Regions from separate parts of the Homo sapiens genome. Here region 2 is linked to region 1. The links are contacts of gene promoters, found by promoter capture Hi-C in blood cells and fetal thymus (Javierre and others, 2016). All regions are on one chromosome and are shown on one strand. Each heading gives the region's core, a stretch centred on a gene start or on the middle of the fragment in contact. The rest is flanking DNA. Distances are from core to core; before and after follow the strand shown.

Region 1 (5,531 bases), core at 1,622-4,121:
TAATTTTATTTTTTTGAGACAGAGTCTTGCACTGTCGCCCAGGCTGGAGTGCAGTGGCGCGATCTCAACTCACTGCAACCTCTGCCTCCCGGGTTCAAGTGATTCTCCTGCCTCACACTCCCGAGTAGCTGGAACTACAGGTGTGCACTGCCACACCCAGCTAATTTTTGTATTTTTAATAGAGACAGAGTTTCACAATGTTGGCCAGGATGGTCTCGACCTCTTGACCTCGTGATCCGCCTGCCTTGGCCTCCCCAAGTGCTGGGATTAGAGGCGTGAGCCACGGGCACCCAGCCTTTAATTTTTATTTTAAGTTCTGGGGTACGTGTGCAGGATGTGCAGGTTTGTTACATAGGTAAACGTGTGCCATGGTGGTTTGCTGCACCTGTCAACCCATCACCTAGGTGTTAAGCCCAGGATGCATTAGCTATTTTTCCTAATGCTCTCCCTCCCGCCACCCCACCCCCAACAGGCCCCAGTGTATGTCGCACCAGGAAACCAAACAAATTGTGTGACTCGCTTTATTGTAGTGGTCTAGAACCAAACCCTAAATATCGCTGAGGTATGCCTGTGTTTGTATAATACTATTGTTATGGAAATAAAAGGGTCTCAATCCAGACTCCAAGAGAGGGTTCTTGATCTCATGCAGGAAAGAATTCCAGGTGGGTTGTAGAGTGCAGTGAGAAGAGATAGTTTATTGAAAGCTACTCCACAACAGAGTAGGGTGTCCTCAGAAAGCAAGTGGAGGAACATCTGTTAAGCTTTTCTTATATAGGGGTCTTGTCTATGTAAAGACTAAAGTAAGCTGTGCCTATGCGTGGGTGGCCTGACATTATGACAAAATTTATTATTCTATTGATTTAAAGAAAACTATCCCTGACATTTTAGTAAGTACATCAAAGTATAACTATAATGATCTTGAAAGCATTTATTGTTATGGGTATTGGACATCTGGACTTTCTGTTGTTCTAGGAGTTTGTCTTTGCAGGCATTACAGGGCTGCTTCCTTCGCTGTAAACACATTAGGACCATGAGTTGTGACTTGCAATGAATGTGCCTTGCTAGTGTCAAGATGGAGCTGAACTTAAAATGGTGTCACTCTGGGTCTCCTAGGTTTCATCTTCCCTAACACTATGACCACACCTGCTGTCTTCTTGATGTTTCCTTGTAAATGTTTTTAATTCCTTTCTTTTTAAATTAGAAATTTACTATGAAAATTTCACACAAATACTATGGAAGAGAACATTATAATGAGTTCTGTCTACTTATCACTCTGCTTTAACATTTATCAACATTTTCTTTTGCAATACCATATACCCCTTCTCAGTGGAGTTTTTTTTTTCTCAGTGGAGTTTTTAAAGCTAATATTATTCCACCCATAAATATTTCCACACGAATCCCTAAAAGTTAAGTCATCTTCTTTTTAACAGAGCTGCATTACTGACAAAATCAACAGTAATTCTTAGCCCCTTGGTAGAAATTGTGTGTTTACTAACGGACTTCCACAGATGTTTCCTTAGACCGTCCTTTCGGAGAAGAAAGAAAACCTGAGATCAGCAGAGTCTAATTCTCTAAACATATTTTTAAGCCGAGTCCCAGAGACAGACATAACTGGCCTGAAGGCATCCAGCATGCCCACATCAGAGTGTAGGTTCAATTCCCTGAAAACAAGTTTCCCACCTGCTGGAACTGAACACATTGGGTAGTAATTTCCCACCACTGTTCAGGTAGAACTTCCTGTCAGAAGCTGAGCTGTGAATCATGTTTAGGAGTTCACCAAGTGAAAGGAATTGTATCTTTACAACTCCTCATCCACACCCTCCAAAAAGGGGAGTAAGGAGGTTTCAGAATTTCCACAGAGGAGAAGCTAAGGGTCAGAGACTGCACTTAAAGCTTCATTGACATGGTAAGGCGATTGTTATTAATTATATTTTAACTTCAAGGTAAATAAAAACAGTCTTCTTTAGGTGCTTTTAGTAACACGTTGGCCATACTAAAGACTATTAGTGTTGTTATTATTGCTGCCTACTATAGTTGCACTTGAGGTATTTAGTGTGGAGGGTAATGGGTGATTCAAATCTCTATTCACCTTCCCACCCGACCCAGCCCTTCAGAAGGGGACGCCCGGACTTCTCCTCCCTCCTCTGGTGGTATCTCCCAGGAGAGGATTGTATTAATACTATTGGACTTCTACCCTATTTCCCAAGGCGGTTTCTCCCATTAAAAGTTGTACCACTCTTCCTGCAGCCTACTACTCATTCAGATGTCTCTCAGACTTTCAGGGTGGTTTCACTCAAGAGATGACTCCCCTAGTGACCTTTCCACCTTTTCCCTGAATGGCGTCTGTAAAAAATGGACTGTACTATCCTGATTCCTCCTATCATCTGCCTGTGGTTTCTCCCAGGATCCCCTTCACTTGGTGATTTTTCCCTGGCTCCTCTATTCCCTGGTAATTATTATCCTCAGTGTCCTGTATTCAGAAAGGTAACTTAGCTTTTCTAAATATAACATACAGCACCAGACCCACATTTCCAGTAACTTTCTCCTCCGAAATAGAAGCCTAGTCAGACAAGGGTCACACTCCAGCATCCTATGTAACTATACCTGCCTCGCTCTAGGAAACCCTGCCAGCGGCCAATTCCTCTGCTCTACGGAATGGATATGCTTTCAAAATGGCGGCCCACGCGAATAAACACCATAAGGGCGCGGCCATGTTCTCTGCCGGACAGCGCCACATTACGGAACCTGTGCGCTGTGTCTGCGCCCTGTTGACTGTTCGAGGAAACTGGCTTCCAAGTTTATTCAGAGCATGCGCCATATCAACAGCCTACAAAGGGGAGGTGCTAGAAGTCGGACCGGAAGTGGAAGTGGTCTTCCAAGGCTTTTTTGCCGCTGGTGTCAGGAGTATTTTCATATTCCAATACCGATAAATCTTTGAGGTGATTTTGGTTGATCACGATTGGGGTTTCTGTGGAGCCAGTAATAGGGGGTGTCGAGGTTGCCTGTGGAGTTAGTGATTGCGGTTTCAGGCTTCGGTGATGGGGTTCTGTGGCGTCCGTTGTTGATTGTGACGGATTTCTCAGGTCATTGATGGAGCTCTTTGGGATGAGTGATTGAGGTTTGGGGGTCAGTGATGGGAGTCTGTGGTCAGTGACAGAGCCTGTAGGGTCAGTTATGGTGATCGGTGAGGACTGTAATCAGCTTGCTTTCTAACCTGAGTTGAAAGTTCAGCTTTTTAATTTTCAGTCTTCTTTAATATAAAAATTCTCAAGTTTTGGTGAATCTTTGTATTAAAAATTGTTCAAATCTAAGTGGTTTTTTCTTTGATCCATGAGTTATTTAGAAGTTCCTTTTTAAAGTAATGTCTGTTTAATGGTCAAATTGAAAAATTGCTTTATGACCTAGTTCGTGGTCAGTTTTCATGAATGTCACATCTATTACATAGAAACAGTGTACTATGTTCTCTAATTGTATTGTTATAGATATTAATTAAGCATATATTCAAAAAATATATCTGTCTCCTCACAGATTATTTTGTCTGCTTAATTACAGAGGAAGGTAAAGTACTCAACTCTGGAAAGGTTATTTGTCCATTTGTCCTTCTTTTTCTGCTTTATATATGTGAAATTATTAGGAATAACTATGTGCACTTTTTTTTTTTTTGAGATGGAGTCTCGCTCTGTCACCCAAGTTGGAGTGCAGTGGCGCGATCTCAGCTCACTGCAACCTCTGCCTAGTGGGTTCAACGGATTCTCCTGCCTCAGCCTCCAGAGTAGCTGGGATTAGAGGCACCCGCCACCACGCCCAGCTAATTTTTTGTATTTTTTAGTAGAGACGGGGATTCACCATGTTGGCCAGGCTGGTCTCAAACTCCTGACCTCAGGTGATCTACCTGCCTCCGCCTCCCAGAGTGCTGGGATTACAGGCGTGAGCCACTGCGCCCGGCATATGTGCATTTTTAATACTTTATAGATATGACTAAGTAGCTCAAAATATAACAATTCAAGCTTATACCAACAATTTATAAAATAACTCATTTTCCCAGATGCTTTTCCAGCAGTGGATATTGTTGCATTTTAAAAGTTTTTAAAATTTTGAGGGAAAATTATATCTAATTGCTCCAATGCATTTTCCAGTTACTAAAGTTGGCATCTTATTTGGTTAATTGCCATTTGTTTCCTTTTCTGTGAATTTTCATATCTTTTGTCCTACTTTTTTTTGTGGTATATTTTAACATAAAGTTAGGAAATATCATCTAATCAAAAGTATCTGATTTTTCTGTTACAGAGTCTGTGTTTCCTCTCACGTGTAATAAGATCCCTCCCAGCCCACCACAGTGTTATACACATGTATACTTCTAAAATTTATTTTAATAGTCTTTGTGATTTAACAAATACACATAATTAAGTGATCAGTCCTGCTGGCATTTGCCTACTGAATAGTGTGTGATGGAGATCTAGTTTGTTTTTTTCCAGGTGGCCAGCCAGTTATATCACTGCATTATATCACTGCCATTTATGCAATGAATGTCTTATGCACACTCATTTGAATACCACTTTTATCACATATATAGATCAATATTGTCTGGTATATTTATTGTTTTACTTGTTTTTATTACATTGTTTTTATATTGTTTTAATATCTGATAATGCATGGTAATCGCTGATATGTATTGTATGATTTTTGTGTGCCTGGGAGGTGTTGAGTACTTTACAAGTATTATCTCATTTAATTTTTGTAACTTTGAGATAAGCATTTTCATCCTCATTTCTGAAATTAAAAGTGAAGAAATGGCTGGGCGCAGTGGCTCACGCCTGTAATCCCAGCACTTTGGGAGGCAGAGGCGAGCGGATCAGGAGGTCAGGAGATCCAGACCATCCTGGCCAACATGGTGAAACCTCGTCTTTACCAAAAATTAGCTGGACATGGTGGCGCATGCCTGTAATCCCAGCTACTTGGGAGGCTGAGGCAGGAGAATTGCTTGAACCTGGGAGGCAGAGCTTGCAGTGAGCCGAGATCGCACCACTGCACTCCAGCCTGGCGACAGAGCGAGACTCCGTCTCAAAAGAAAGTGAAGAAACTTCTGTTCTCATAGGTGAAAAGTGTCAGAGCTGCAGTTCAAATCTGCAGTAACATTACTCCATCTCTCATGACTTTTCCCATATTTCACCGTAACTAATACCTATCACAGATTTTGTTAAATTTTATGTTCTCCTCAGCGCTGGTTCTCAAAGTGTGGTCCCTGTACTGACAGCATCAGCGTTTCCTGGGCACCAGTTAGAAACGAAACTTTTTGGGTTCTACTTTAGACCTACTGAATCAGAAACTGTGGAGTAGGCTGAGAATTTTTAACTGTGTTTCATTTAACAGGTCCTCCAGGTAACTTGAATGCATACCCATTTGAGAACCACTGCTTTGGTTTCTAGCTCAGGGACCTGCACCTTGATATATCCAGGAAGTGCTTATGTGTTGAATGTGAAATGACTGACTATGGGAACATTGTCTTTCCAGGTTTCTGGGTGTCTCTGGGG
Region 2 (5,531 bases), core at 807-3,306, about 19 Mb before region 1:
ACTATCCCCAGGAGACAGCATGCAGACAAAAAAAGAAAGGGCCATGAGCAGAGTGCTGAGGCACACTCTGTTCAAGTCACGGAGGTAAGAACTGTGGCAAAAACTGAGCAGTCAGGAAGATGAAAGTCAGATGAGTGTGAGATCCCAGTAGCCAAGGGAAAAAAGGGGGCCTATTGAAGGACAGGGATGAGCTATTTGAGGGATAGGTAGCCACCTGTTTTGTAACTGAAGTTTTACTGGAACACAGCCCATCCATTCATTTACATATTGTCTTTGGCTACTTTAGCTCTATAAGAGCAGAAAGGAGTAGATGCAGCAGGACTTTCAAAGCCTAACATATTTTCTGCTGTGGCCTCATCCAGCACAAGTTTGCCAGCCTCTGAGCTATTTCAAATACCAATGATAGTCAAAAAAGACTAAGAATTGAGCACTGCATCTGGTAATGTGAAGATCACAGTAACCCACTCAAGAGCAGTTTGGGTAGGACAACTGGAAGCTGGTTCATCTGTACATATATTTTTTGAGGCCTCAGTGGAAGTGAAATGGTTCATCTATTAATGAGCTAGCTATGATATTTATAGGAGAAGCCAACCGAAACAAACACAACTATTTACTGGCATGTTTTAAAGCCACAAAATCAAGTGGAAAAGCCTTTCATATTGCGCCTCCTCTCCCTAAAATGTTGTCTTTCTTTACTGTGCCTCCCAAACATCTTCTCTCCCTTCAAGGCAAGGCTCAAAAATCACCTCCTTGGTAAATAGGCCTACCCTTCCGCTACAGGAGGCTGGAAGCCAGGAGCGCCTTGTAGTCCTCGCTCATAATACTTGGCCCAAGGATGATCACATTCTAGAATCTTGCTTGTTTCCTTGACATTGGGTCAACAGGCTGTGAGCTCCAGAGCAGGGACTAGGGCTTAGCTATTGGTTTGCTCAGTGGCTGGCACAAAGTGGTCACCAAACAAACCATGTATAGCAGAAGAGTCTGCCGTGTTCCTCAAGGGGCACAATTCCTCCATCAGAGTCCCTCTGAGAAAAGCGGTACAAGGGAGAGGCTGAATCATTTCATCAATCAAGAATGAAGGCTGATTGGGATGAAGAAGAAGCAGGCATCGAGGCCCCGGGCAGTTTAAACTTTTCCCCGTAGCCCATCACTTCACTAGAACGTGAAGAAATAGAAACCCGCGCCCAAACAGGTCTCTTAAACTGAAAACTTTCAAGAAAATAAGCAACATTAAGTCCCGAAAAGCAAGACTGCATTTCAGAGACAAGAGATGAAATGCCAACTCACCTGGGACATGGCTTTAGGTTCAATTCCTGTCCCCACAGCCTCCAGCTTCTTGTTTCTCTCCTGGGGAAGAGCAGTGTCCCTGGAAGGCAGAGCTGAAAGAGAAAGGAGTAGCTAGAGACCAGGTCTACACCACAGTCCCAAATCACCAGCCTAGAAACGTCCCTTCCTGCATGAAAAGGTGGGATCAGATCATTACCCTGCCTAGGGACTGCCACAACGTGGAGATAGGTTTTTTTCCTCCCTGGGAGCACGAAAACAGGAAAAGCGTCTAGTTAGAGTCACCCTGGGAAAGTCAACACCCTTTTACCGCGGCTTGCTGCTCTGAATCAGTTGAGCTTCCAAATCTTCAGATTCTCCCACTCCACCAGCTTCAAAGACCAGGGGCACAGTTCTCCAGCAACTGGTCCCCGAGAGCCCAACCCCCTCCCAGATCTCATCCCGAGATGAATTCGTCCCTGTCCGCTCGGCCCCAAACACCTGTCACTCTCACCTCTGTGCCCAGGCCCCGTAGGGGCCGCTCCTCGCTGGCCTTTGGATGCGAGGCCATTCCTTGAGCGCGGCCTTCCCCGGGCAGGGAGGGCCAAGGTGGCTGGAGTCCCTACAGTCGGGCCTCGGCCCGCCCGGGGCTTTGTGCGGGGGGCGCCTCTACCCGGGAGCGGCGTCGGCTCGCGGACACTCGCGCTCGCCGCCCCCCGCATGTCACCCGAGGCCGCGCGACGCCCTTCCGACCGGTCCCTCACAGACCCACACCCCTGGCCACACCCGCCCGCCACGCCCAGCGAACAGCCCCGCGCGCGCTCCCCCATGGCCCGGCATCCACTGGGCCGCGCCGCGGAGCCGCCCCGCCCCCGGCCGCGCCCCGCCCCTCCCCACCCCTCCCCGCTGCCCCGCCCCGCCCCGCCCCGCCCCGCCCCGCCCCGCCCCGCCCCGCCCCGCCCCGCCCCGCCCCTCAGCCTAGAGAAGCCCGGCGCTTCCCACTTCCAGTGCGCAGGCAGCGCCGCCGGAACCGGGCGTGGCCTCGGCGCAATGCCCGCTGGGAAGCGTAGTCCCAAGCAGGGACGGATGCGGCGGCCCTCGGAGCTCAGGTTGCAAGATACGGTTTGGCCCCGGGCCTATGCAACGCCCGTCCGTCCTGCCCTCTGCGGGTCGCTCTCACTTGTCCCTGGACCGCAGCCGCCGCATAAGTGGTGGCCAACGCTGGGCCTGGGTGTGGCCGGAAGCAGAGGCCGCTCTGACTACACACCCACCCCCCAAAGGCTTCTGGGAGTCGCGCAGGCGCAGCGGCAGACCGGGTGAGGCGGGGCTTGCGGCGAGGGGTGGGACCGCAGGGCCGGAGTAAAAGGGTGCTTGGCTGTGACAGGTGCTAAGGGCCTGGGCGTCAGCTCCTTGCGGGAGCGTCACTGCCGACCGGGAAGGGAAAGGCAATCTTGGGGGCCTCCGGAGTCCGGAGGATCACTCTGATGGGTGATGTGTGTGGGCTAGGAAGGGGGATGTAGAGAGCTTGTGGGATTGTTTTGGGTGCCCCCTCACCTTCTCCCATTATCTCTGGCTACACGGGCCTCCCATCCTCCAAAATACCATTTTCCATTTTGTAACCTATGTATTTGCACGTCCTGGGTCGAAATAGTCTAACCCCAAATTTTCGTCTGGGCTGGCTCCTTTATGCCATTCACTTGTCATCGCCTCAGAGAGGGCTGCCTAACGTCTCAAAAATACCAGCCCTGGCGACCTCTTAAAGTTCCCTTCCTGTGTGAATCACGGTCTGAAGTTAGCTGATGGATTTATTCTTGAACATGTTTAGGACCGGTCTCTCCCCCAGGGGCCTTATCAGAACTGGAGAGCTTCATCCTGGGAGCCAAGGGCCTTGCTGGCTCACAGGCAGTGATGCTGTTACACCAGTCATCACAGATGCACTGACCTCTGCACGCCCAGTCACACTGCACGCCTGGTCTCCTTACTCTTGAATTGATTTCTTTCAGGTCTCCTGGCCTCAGTGATGGAATTAAGATGACTTCTATCTCTGAATCCAAGGGTGACTGAAAGCCGCAAGCTGCAGAAAGGACAAGGTCAGCATTTCTCTCAAAGCACTTCAGTCTCATAGAAAAGGCTTAGTTTCAGTCAGGTGGACCTAGCCATGTAATAGCTGTGGCAGACACTGCTAATGGTCTCTCTGGTGTCTATTTTGCACTCCTTCCACAGCAGAACATTGATGCTCTTCAAGTGGCCATCTGCCCAGCTTATAATACTCACCTCCCCAGTCTCCTTGTAAGGAGTAGTGGCTCTGTAACCAATGAATTTTAAGTACACATTTGCTGGGGGTTTGGTGGATGTGTGGAAAGAGACACAGCTGGCATGTAACTCTGGCCTTTTGTCATCTCACACAACCTTCTTCCTGCTTGGGTATGACACAGGATGTCAACAGGTAGAACAGCTGTAGAGAGCTGGCAAAGGGATCGTGGCCAACTCAACATTCCACTGGAGGCTATATGATCAAACAGCAAACTGTTTATCATGAATGCAGAATGTGGGCAAAGTCGCTTCTGCTCCAGCCACCAGAAGGTTTGCTGAAGGCAATCACTCCCTGGTGTCATGCTCCTTGAGGTTATCTAATGGGACATCTAGAGCCTATTGGTTGACGAATGCAGTCTTGCAAGCCTGCTGTAAATCAAGCTACTGACCGACAACCACCCCCCTTCTCCCTATTCACTCTAATAAATACGAAGGGCTGTAAAGGCTCAGGGCCTGTGTTCACTGGAAGCAAGGAGCCCCCAGACCTCTTCTTCCAAATATACTCTTTTGTCTTTGTCTTTATTCCCATGTTTGTCATCCTTTGTTCAGTCCAACAAGGATAGGGTCCGCTGCAAACAGCCACCTTGGCATCATGAGGATGAAAGTTATGCTAAAGATGGCTTAGCAGAAAAAAAGAGAAATAAACAATCAAAGAAATGGTATTAGAAATGAAAAAGTGGACATAATCACAGAAATTTTTAGAATTTTGCAAATACTGTGATCACCTTATCTCAATATATTTAAAACATATGCAGGGGCTTACCATAGAGAAAATTATAAGTACCAAAACTGACTCAAGAAGAAATGGAAAATCATTAAATAAGTTCTCAGGCTTTTCCATGAATACCAAAGCAATAAATAATCCTTATCCTATAAAACTATACTGGAGAATTTAAAACTAGACACCCTTGATACCAAAACTGGACAAGGACAGTAGGGAAAGAATTTAAGTAGGGAAAGAATTCCAATCTTCAGGGACAACATACACATTAAAATCCTACCTAAAGTGACAATAAACAAAGTCCAGCAATACATAGAAAAATATGTCATGTCCAAGGAAGATATGTCAGAATACTTTCATGTTCTGGAATGTAGAGGCATCACCTATGTGGATAAAGACAGCATCCTGAGTTGATGGAGAAATGGCATAGAAGGAACCAGGTCCTTTGATGACATCATGGAGCAAAGCTGTCTTCTTGCCTTGACCTGCTACCTACCTACATGGGAAGCTGTTACTTGAGAAGGCAATAAAATCTATCTTCTTTATTGACAGAGTTGACAATACCTTTTTTATCTTATTGTAGCAGTCACTTATCCTCAAATGACTGCTATATCCTATTTTCCTATTATATGGGGCTATATGCGTCCTTGTTCATATTTAGCAGAGAAGCAACAGAAGCACACTAAAGAATTATGAAGAAAAATATTTCAATATATCCAAATTTTTAGAGAGCTATAAGAATAATTTCATTATTAAGTTCTCCTGCAGCAGGAAGTTGACAAAATATCTCATCTTAACCACCAGGAGTTACACTGTGCTTTTTTTATAAACCCAAAACTATAGCTTTTTGAAAAACAGAAACCAACAAGAAAGATGAATAATCTCCCGGCTGAATCATTTAGATTAAGCTGATACAACTTATGAACTACTGCCAATCTTCACATTTGCCATATTTATAAATTGTTTTATTAATTTTTTTAAAAATTCAGTATAAAGAGTAATATATACTCACAATAGGCAAAAATAAAATTTATAGCACAAAGAAAGGATGTCATATGCTTAGGTGTCAGATGTTTAACAAACAGAATGTACAACATAATGACATTTGATTTGGGAAATAATACTTAGTCCAATGAATTTAGTTATCCAAGGAATCTACTGATTAAAAATATGAATTTTCTATAAAATCATAATTTCTGATTCTATATTTTTCTCTGGAGAGGTATTTTATGTT

Evidence for each region. The method cuts DNA at HindIII sites, captures the fragments that hold promoters and counts their contacts. A CHiCAGO score of 5 or more calls a contact.
Region 2: a contact is called between the fragment with the promoter of ZFP28 here and the fragment with the promoter of ZNF585A in region 1, in 6 of 17 cell types (total CD4 T cells, non-activated CD4 T cells, naive CD4 T cells and 3 more). The highest score is 17.1, in total CD4 T cells.

Annotation. Positions count from the first base shown.
Region 1 is chr19:37,170,035-37,175,565 of GRCh38, reverse strand. It overlaps ZNF585A (zinc finger protein 585A), which reads left to right and starts at 2,871. Exons shown (of 5, transcript NM_001288800.2): 1 at 2,871-2,939; 2 at 5,512-5,531. RefSeq lists enhancers at 2,645-2,939, 2,781-2,970. The HindIII fragment of the contact is 2,114 bases long and covers 1,896-4,009 here.
Region 2 is chr19:56,535,473-56,541,003 of GRCh38, reverse strand. ZFP28 (ZFP28 zinc finger protein) reads right to left here and starts at 2,056. Exons shown (of 8, transcript NM_020828.2): 1 at 1,778-2,056; 2 at 1,288-1,379. The coding sequence starts at 1,985. It overlaps ZFP28-DT (ZFP28 divergent transcript), which reads left to right and starts at 2,270. Exons shown (of 3, transcript NR_183967.1): 1 at 2,270-2,579; 2 at 3,267-3,353; 3 at 4,672-4,848. The HindIII fragment of the contact is 11,931 bases long and covers 1-5,531 here.